Regions from separate parts of the Homo sapiens genome. Here regions 2 and 3 are each linked to region 1. The links are contacts of gene promoters, found by promoter capture Hi-C in blood cells and fetal thymus (Javierre and others, 2016). All regions are on one chromosome and are shown on one strand. Each heading gives the region's core, a stretch centred on a gene start or on the middle of the fragment in contact. The rest is flanking DNA. Distances are from core to core; before and after follow the strand shown.

Region 1 (3,072 bases), core at 538-3,037:
GGCGTGAATCCGGGAGGCAGAGCTTGCAGTGAGCCGAGATTGCGCCACTGCACTCCAGCCTGGGTGACAGAGCAAGACTCCGTCTCAAAAAAAAAAAAAAAAAAAAAGAAATGACTAGTCATCCAATGTGCCAAAATAATAATAAACTTTTATTAGTGATTACTATATGCCAGGAAAAATTCCTAGCACTTTATGAGGATTACCTGATTTAATTTTCAACTGAAGCATGGAAGAAGATACTATTATCAAGCCAGTTTTACAGGTAAGGAGACTGAGTCATAGAAGATTTAAGAAGCTAACTCACAATCATATAGCTAGATAGTAGAGGAGTCAGGAATCAAGTTTGCCCCATAACTGCAATACTGTTATGTACACAGTACAGGTAGAAATGCAAAGTGGGTTTGAACCAAAGAGTGGAGGGCTTTTTGTGCCATCCCAAAGTGTTGTACTTCATAAATAAATTACAAAGGAGGAGAAAGAATCCTATTTTTTTTTGTATCTGAAAGACAAAGAAATAAAAAGTTAAAAAGATTCTCTGTTAGTACTGATTATTTGGAACAATAAATTGTTTAGAGCTATGCTGTTCAATATAGTAGCACCTAGCAGTATGTGCCCATTAAGCGTTTGAAATACGACTAGACCAAATTGAGATGCACCGTAGGCTTAAAATATACACTGTATTTCTTTCCTTTTTTCTTTTTTTCTTTTTTTTTTTTTGAGACGGAATCTTACTCTGTCACCTAGGCTGGAGTGTAGTGGCGCGATCTCGGCTCACTGCAACCTCCACCTTCTGGGTTCAAGCCATTCTCCTGCCTCAGCCTCCCTAGTAGCTGAGATTACAGGCATACACCACCATGCCTGGCTAATTTTTTTGTATTTTTAGTAGAGATGGGGTTTCACCATATTGGCTAGGCTGGTCTCAAACTCCTGACCTTGTGATCCACCCGCCTCAACCTCCCAAAGTGCTGGGATTACAGGTGTGAGCCACTGCGTCTGGAACTCCCCCTGGGAATATTCTCTACACTGTATTTCAAGGATTTAATATGACAAAAAGAATGTCAAATACCTTATTAACAATGTAGTATATTGATGCATACTGAAGTACTATTTGGGATATATTGGTTTAAATACAATATATTTTAAAATTATATTTACCTTTTAAAAAAACTTTTATTAATGAGGCTACTAGATCATTTAAATTTACCTGTGTGGCTTGTATTGTATTTCTACTGGGCAGTGCTGATCTAGAGCAATTTGAAACTTGTGGTAGATATTTTACTAACCAACTCTGATGAAGGACTTCCTCACCAAATTGTTCTTTTAACCGCATTCTTTCCTTGCTTTCTGGTCATTTGCAAGAAAAATTTTAAAAGGCTGCCCCTTTGTAAAGGTTTGAGAGGCCCTAGAATTTCGTTTTTCACTTGTTCCCAACCACAAGCAAATGATCAATGTGCTTTGTGAATGAAGAGTCAACATTTTACCAGGGCGAAGTGGGGAGGTACAAAAAAATTTCCAGTCCTTGAATGGTGTGAAGTAAAAGTGCCTTCAAAGAATCCCACCAGAATGGCACAGGTGGGCATAATGGGTCTGTCTCATCGTCAAAGGACCCAAGGAGTCTAAAGGAAACTCTAACTACAACACCCAAATGCCACAAAACCTTAGTTATTAATACAAACTATCATCCCTGCCTATCTGTCACCATCTCATCTTAAAAAACTTGTGAAAATACGTAATCCTCAGGAGACTTCAATTAGGTATAAATACCAGCAGCCAGAGGAGGTGCAGCACATTGTTCTGATCATCTGAAGATCAGCTATTAGAAGAGAAAGATCAGTTAAGTCCTTTGGACCTGATCAGCTTGATACAAGAACTACTGATTTCAACTTCTTTGGCTTAATTCTCTCGGAAACGATGAAATATACAAGTTATATCTTGGCTTTTCAGCTCTGCATCGTTTTGGGTTCTCTTGGCTGTTACTGCCAGGACCCATATGTAAAAGAAGCAGAAAACCTTAAGAAATATTTTGTAAGTATGACTTTTTAATAGTACTTGTTTGTGGTTGAAAATGACTGAATATCGACTTGCTGTAGCATCTCTGATAGGCTGTCATCTCTTGTAGGCAGTCATTTTGAGATTTGGTGTTATTTTGTTAATTATTGACTAGATGAGTTCCTTGACTAAATAATCTAGATATTGTTTTAACCTTCTGCTCAGTTTGTATAGAGACTTAAAAGGGATTTATGAATTTTCCAAAAGATGGGCATAATATGGGTATGAAGCATAATGATGTTAATAATTTTGTGGTGGGAACTCATTCAGTTGTGATAGTCAAGGAGTATGCAGATTGAAAAAAATGATTGGTTATTAGTTTTTGACTTCTCAGACTCTAAGGTCAAGATTAGCATTAAAAAGGTAATAGGAAATGTTTACAAATTAAAGTCAAAAAGGTCCTTAAAGCTTTGGCTTAAAAAAATAACTGATAGGTGATTTTCTCCAAAAAGTGATTTCAACATTCTGCTTCTCTATCTATATTACTTGTGAAGTATTCCGGAACTTCGTTGCTCACTGGGATTTTGGAAGAATTATGATTCTGGCTAAGGAATGTTTAAAAATTTTAAGTGAATTTTTTGAGTTTCTTTTAAAATTTTATTGATGGTTAATGAAAAGTTTTTACATTTTAAATATTTCATTATTTGTTTAAAACTTAGCTGTTATAATTATAGCTGTCATAATAATATTCAGACATTCACAATTGATTTTATTCTTACAACACAAAATCAAATCACACACACACACACACACACACACACACTCGCACATGTTTGGAACTATCTTTTAAAGCTCGTATAATAATACCCTACAGGAAGGCACAGTAGATGTAATAGAAACCTGTACCATTGGGGGGCAGTATTTTATAGTGGGGTGGCTTTGCTGTTTTTTGTTTTTGTATTTTTTAGCCTAGCTTGAAAATACTTTCTTTAGCTTACTATAGTTTTTGGGACCTTTGGAGTATCAGCTTTGTTGAGCTCATTTGTGACATTGCAATTTAATGGTTATATTGGGAAATAAAAA
Region 2 (3,474 bases), core at 278-2,777, 810 kb after region 1:
ATCAGCCAAAGTTTTGGACCTATCAAGAATAAATCTTTAATTGAAGTCTATTAGTCTGTTCTCACACTGCTATACCTGATACTGGGTAATTTATGAAGAAAAGAGGTTTAATTGACTCACAGTTCCACAGGCTATACAGGAAGCATGAGGCTAGAAGGCCTCAGGAAACTTACAATCACGGCAGATGACTAAGGGAAAGCAAGCACATCTTACCATGATGAATCAGGAAAGAAAAAGAAGAGGGAGGTGCCACATGCTTTTAAACGATCAGATCTCATGAGAACTCACTCACTACCAGGAGAACAGCAAGAAGGAAACCTGCCCCCATGATCCAGTGACCTCCCACCAGTCCCCTCCTCCAATTCAACATGAGATTTGGGCAGGAAAAGAAATCCAAACCATATCATGAAGCTTTAATTGAAATGTTTGATTCTTCAAATAAATTACTTTCAAGTCAACCCAAGTGGCGTACAACTCTTGTAAACAAGTTTTCTAAATTTTGGTCACATTTTATTAACAAGTATTGAAATTTTAAATCAAGGCATTCAACAAGTGGAAGAACAAAAACCTTCAGCTTGCAAAACTTTTTAGAGAATTAAAGTTATTGAAAACAAAACTTACAGAAGAGCAAATGAAATTTGTCTATACAAAAAAAAAGGATGTGAACAAATGTTAACAATACAAATTTAAACAGGATACAGGATTTAATTTTGAAATTCTATAATTGCACTTTGGAATATTTCAACTTGAAGAGTCTTTTGATGGAGCTCCTACGTTTATTCAGATAAATTGGCATTCTGTTCCAGAATAGAATGGAATAGAGTTGAGAAGTCTACATTTTCACAAAACCTAAATTTGGTGAAATGCTCCAAACAGTCATAAAGACAACGTTTTTCTTCCTTTTATTTTTTTTTCTTTTTTGATTAAACATGTCTTTATTATCAGTATGCCTGATTCTGTGGAAAGCCGACTGGAACCCTGGTCATTCTGACTCTCGGGGCCTCATGTTCCAAGGTTGGCTGCTGCAACTCTCTCTTGAGCTCTACCTGTGTGTACATCTTGGTGATGTCATTGTACCTGCCTTTGGGGGGCTGGTAGTTAGAGACCCATAGTGTATAATCTGGACCTTCCCATTCAAAGGGGAACATGCTGCAGTCCCACTTGATGGTCTCAGTGGGGAACTCAGGGGACTTGAGTGGTAGCTCCTGCAGAGCTTCCTGCTGGGTCCCCAGCACAGCCTTGATGGTGTCCCTGTCCATAGTGTGCTCTCGCTGCTTGTACAGAGACCACTCATCAGAAGCAGAGCTCTCCACTCACTCTCCTCCAAGGAGAGCTCCACCTGAGGCCACTGGCTTGCTTTATCCAAGAACCTCACAAGGCTAATAAAATCTGCAACAAGAATGAGCTCTTGGCTAGCCTTTTCCAGTTTTCATATCTTATTTTTCAAGCAGCCCTTTCCTGCTTGGTCTTTTTTAGAATTCACCTTCTGCTCTCGAAGAGGTTCTGCTCTCACAGGAATGAGTTCGTAGGAGGACAACACTGAAGCTCGCTGGTGGGTGCCTCAAACCTGCTCCAGAAGCCACTGGGTAGGCACATAGTGCATGCCAGCTCACAGCCTAGCACTAGGACTAGTTGGCAGCCTGGCCCTGAGAAATATTGATCTACAAGATTTGTCTTATAGAAGTGCATGTCAAAGAAAGGCATTCCAGATTGAAAGAAAAATATCTAGGCTAAAATGTTTACCCATTTTAATATATTTTAAAAGAGAATTGGGAATATCTTCTATTTAGCCGCATTTGTTGTGAGCTTACTGATTACCTCACCACTGACAGAGAGAATATATTCTCATTAAAAATAGAATTTTCATCTAGAAGTAAATATATCAAACATTTTCCATTTATATATCATAAAATTATATTTTGAAGATTAGAGGCAATTTTATTAAAATTTTGGAACCAAATTAGGGAAAAAAGCATTATTTACTCAAAGAATAAAGAAAGAAAAGAAGGGGAGGAGGAAGAGAAACAATGTCATAGGCTTAAAGGCAGACCAAACTAAGAAACTAAGTAAAATACAGTACTATGTTTGAAGAGTAATTATTACACTTGTGTTTTTTGAAATATTCAATCAATATATCTGCTTTAATAATTTTTTATTTTTTGTTTTTATTTTTGATCTTTGTTTTTTATTTTTGCTTTAATATTTTTAGAGAGACCTTTTAAAACAGTTTTAATGGAATTGTTTTATATGCTTAACAATAACATAAAACCAGTTTGTTGAACAATAAGTAAATATTTCAAAACTCATATAATGTTAATTTTTTAACAACTCATTTTCAAAATTGTACCAGTTTGGTTAGTAAGTTAGATTCTCATCTAAGCTCAAACTAAGTGCAGCCAGCATGGCAACTTATGGGTTGAATGGAAGTTGTTTAGACCACACTGAAGGGTTCTGATTATATCCTGATGGTTGGAGGATGGAACAAGGTGCACGAGCAGAGAGGTAGATGAAGCTGGAAATGCAGATGCCAGGTCCTCACCTGTACTTCATCCAGAGCAACTCAGCCTATATTTTATTTACATATTGAATTTCTGTGTAAGTTCTAATTTGAAGAAATGGTTCCATGACTAAAAATAAGCTTGAGACCACCACTGTGGGCAATGAAGAGTCAGGGAAGAATTTTAAGCAGGGGAGTGACATGATCGTGTTTGCATTTTTAAAAGTCACTCTGGCAACAGGAGGGAAAATGGACACTTATAAAAAATAAACACCTAGAATATGTGGGTTTAGCACATGCATACAATACTTCTTTGCATTAAGATTTAACGTCATGCCTGAAAGGCCTTCTTTAAGACTTTTAAGAAAGTCCAAAATATTGTTTCAAAGCCCCTTTGTACAAGGATCTGCACATTTAATTATGATTAGAATTTCATAAAAAGTTCATTTCTTTAGATGACCTAATTTGATTTCAATTACAAATCAACAAGAACTATATTACATAACAGTGTTTTCATTTTTGACATAGCTGCCTAGATGCTCAGAACTAAAACATTTAACTGCAGCAACTGATTTATTCTAGGAACTCAAAATGCAAATTTTTCCTGTATTTTTTTCTTTGTTTTGTTTTGCCTTTTTAAAATAGCCATTTCAAATATCTTTTGGAAGTACTGACTCTAATAGTAAATAATAATTGTCATGATTATTATTATATAGGGCTTACATGTACCAGACAATGTTCTAAACTCTTTGTATATATAAACTCATTTAATCCTCACCAAACTAAATATGGAACTATCTCTGGCTTTGGAATTTGTGAATTTATTTATAAAACATAGGTGACATCAGAGGACACCAGTTTCCCTTCATCACCAGTATAAACTTACCTAGTAATTTCTGTGCTTAAAACCCATCAAGCATATTTCAAGACAATTTCAAAAAAAAAAAAACTTGGCTCAAAACAACTAAAAATCAAAT
Region 3 (3,244 bases), core at 506-3,005, 840 kb after region 1:
AGTTGGCCCTTGGATTATGCCCTCTTCATTACTTGTCCAGGGAAGACTTCCTGGAGTCCTTGACCTAACCTACAAGATGAAAAGCAGCCAGCTAAGTAAAACAAAAGAGAAGTCAAGTCATTCCAGGCAAAAGGCATAACTTGACCTTGAGCAAACTTGAGAAGGCAAGGGAAATATTTTATAGTTGTCAGAAGAAAAAGTTAGTCCTAGTTGTGAGAGATGCTGAGGCTGGTGGGGCAGGCAGTAACCAGATCTAGTTTGTACTTATCCTATGGGCAAAAGAGAGACAGTGAAGGATGTAGTGCAAAGATGAAATGGTCAGGACCATTGTTTTGCAGCTGTGTAGAGGAAGGACTGGGAATTAATGCCTTCTGGGTATTTTAATGTGGTGGTTTCCAAGGTGTGGCCTTGGGGAACAGCATTAGAACCTGGGAACGTCATAGAAATACAAATTACTGGTTTACTACAGCCTACTGAACCACAGCCTCTGGGTGTAGGGCCCAGCGATCTGTTTTAATAAGTCTTACAGGTGACTGTGATGCACACTCATTTGAAAACTATTCTTCTAAGAGCTCATTCCTCAAGACATTTCATCTCCTTTATGAATTGTTTCTGTCTCACTCATGTTGAATGGACCATACCCTCAATTATTAACCCCCAGTATCCCGTGTATACCTCTCATACAGCAGAATTTTATGGTGCTTCCTTATGTCAGTCTTCCCATGATAATCAGCAAGCTTCTTCATATCAAGTACAGTCTCAACAGCTTTTGTAGCCCTGGCAGCACCCTAAGCGCGTAATAAATTGGCTTGCTAAATGAATGAACACAAAAATAACGATTAGCAGGCATTTGCCGCAGTCCAGTCAATAGATAAGGAGGAAAAGAGGTCTTAAGCCAAAAGCATGAGAGATATTTAGGAAAGAGATATTTAGGAGATGGGCATGAGAGATATTTAGGAAATAAAAGGGACAGAATGCTAGTAAGAGTTAACAATTATATTACTTAGTATGTCCCAGGTACTGTTTTAAGTGCTTTATACAATGTTCCTATTTAATCCTCACAATAACCCTATAAGGTGCAAATATTTTAATTCCCATTTTATAGATAGGGAAAGTTGAGGTTAAATTATTTGCCCAAGTCTAACAGCTAACAGCCAGGATTCAAACTAATATGATATATGATGTCTATCTATCTGTAGAGTCCTTGTTTTTTTTGAGACAGGGTCTCGCTTTGTCACCCAGGCTGGAGTGCAGTGGTGCATGCAATCTTGGGTCACTGCAACCTCCACCTCCCAGGTTCAAGCAATTCCCCTGCCTCAGCCTCCCACACAGCTGGGACTACAGGCATGTGCCACCACGTCTAGCTAATTTCTTTGTGTTTTTTTAGCAAAGACGGGGTTTCGCCATGTTGGCCAGACTGGTCTCGAACTCTTGACCTCAAGCAATCCACCTGCCTTGGCCTCCCAGAGTCCTTGTTCTTTATCATATTCTGCCTCCAAACTCTTGCTAAGTGAGGCTTTTAGATTTCCAGTTTGAATGACTGGGTAAATGGGATGCCATCAGCAAAGAGACAGGAAAAACCAGGGCAAGATGATGACTTCAGCTTTAGATATGCTGTGTTTGAGATACCTTTATGAGATGTATAGCAGGTGGTTGGATATAATAGTCTGAAACAGGGGCATGGACTGGGCTAGATGTATAGATTAAGAAACTGGCTGGGGGACGTGGCTCACGCCTGTAATCCCAGCACTTTGGGAGGCCGAGGCGGGTGTATCACCTAAGATCAGGAGTTTGAAACCAGCCTGGCCAACATGGCAAAACTCCATCTCTACTAAAAATACAAAAATTAGCTGGGCATGGTGGCACACGCCTGTAATCACAGCTACTTGGGAGGCTGAGGCAGGAGAATAGCTAGAACCCGGGAGGCAGAGGTTGCAGTGAGCCGATATTGCGCCACTGCACTCCAGCCTGGGAGACAAAGCAAGACTCCATCAATCTCAAAAAAAAAAAAAAAAAAAAAAATTAAGAAAGAAAAAAAAAGAAAAAAGAAATCAACAACATGTGGCTGGGCAAGGAGGCACTTGCAATAATCTCAGCAGTTTAGGAGGCCAACACAGGATTGCTTGAGCCCAGGAGTTTGAGATCATCCTGGACAAGGTCATGAGACCCCATCTCCACAAGGAAATAAAAAAATTAGCTGGACGTGGTGGCACACACCTATACTCCCAGCTACTCGGGAGGCTGAGGTGGGAGAATCACTTGTGCCCAGGAAGCTGAGGTGCAGTAAACCATGTTCGTGCTATGTACTCCAGTCCAGGCAACAGAGTGAGACCTTGTCTTAAACACAAAAACAAACCTGTGAGGCCATTTGCACTTCAGTTTCCCTTAAATATTGTTCACTAGGTATTTCAGCCCACACGTCTTCTCATTATATGTAATCCTTATTCTTTTAGGGCCATCTCATCCATTCTTATGGTTGCATGTTGTTGATTTCTTTTTTCTTCTTTTTGGTAGAGACAGGGTCTCACTATGTTGCCTAGAGCTGGTCTCCAACTCCTGTCTTCAAGTGATCCCCCACCTTGGCCTCCCAAAGTGCTGAGATTACAGGCGTGAGCTGCCATCTGGCCCTGAAGTACAATTCTTTACTATTTTTTTGAGAGCATTCTAGACTAAAATCACTTAATATCCATCAACCATTACTTACTGGCAATAGCAAATTAATTCCAATACTTCCTAATCTGGAAACAATGTCACTTTACATAGCATAAGCTTTCTGTCTTCTAAGACCTCAGCAAAATAATTAAACTTGCTAAAATCACCACTAGAAAGTTATGAAGAGGACAGGGTATTAAGATTCCAAAACAAAATTAGGTATTTCTGTCTACTAAATATCATTCTGAAACCTGACACACTGGCATTATAGGGTCCAAAAAAGTAAAATTATATGCATTACTCACTTCAGTAGTTTTTGGATTCAGAGCTAACTTTCTAAGTTACAAAGAGCAAAAACATGTTGCTGAAAGATCTTGCCTGAAACTACAGCAAAGGTGTTTACAAAATCTTTTCTGATATTCATAGGAAAACAAGCAATTTACTGTATTGGAAAAGGAAAACATATGATTTCATTTTGCATTTCCTTTAAGAAAACAGCCTTATCTGATGAGATTTGGGTAGCCTGTAGCCAAATACTTCCACTGTGTTCCACTTTTGCAACCAAAATTATCAAATGAATTTTATTTAAATG

The links. The method cuts DNA at HindIII sites, captures the fragments that hold promoters and counts their contacts. A CHiCAGO score of 5 or more calls a contact.
Region 2: a contact is called between a fragment that was not itself captured here and the fragment with the promoter of IFNG in region 1, in 3 of 17 cell types (M2 macrophages, total CD4 T cells and naive B cells). The highest score is 8.0, in M2 macrophages.
Region 3: a fragment that was not itself captured here is called in contact with the fragment with the promoter of IFNG in region 1 in 1 of 17 cell types (total B cells); the score reaches 5.4 in total B cells.

What each region holds. Positions count from the first base shown.
Region 1 is chr12:68,158,455-68,161,526 of GRCh38, reverse strand. IFNG (interferon gamma) reads left to right here and starts at 1,787. Exons shown (of 4, transcript NM_000619.3): 1 at 1,787-2,025. The coding sequence starts at 1,912. The HindIII fragment of the contact is 12,450 bases long and covers 1-2,459 here.
Region 2 is chr12:67,349,599-67,353,072 of GRCh38, reverse strand. It overlaps LOC124902957 (a long non-coding RNA gene), which reads right to left. Exons shown (of 2, transcript XR_007063354.1): 2 at 393-3,474. It also overlaps the pseudogene MRPL40P1. Among named protein-coding and RNA genes, the nearest start is that of CAND1, 82 kb to the right of the region's middle. The HindIII fragment of the contact is 2,227 bases long and covers 414-2,640 here.
Region 3 is chr12:67,316,252-67,319,495 of GRCh38, reverse strand. CAND1 (cullin associated and neddylation dissociated 1) reads right to left here. Exons shown (of 15, transcript NM_018448.5): 15 at 1-3,244. Among named protein-coding and RNA genes, the nearest start is that of CAND1, 49 kb to the right of the region's middle. The HindIII fragment of the contact is 2,032 bases long and covers 740-2,771 here.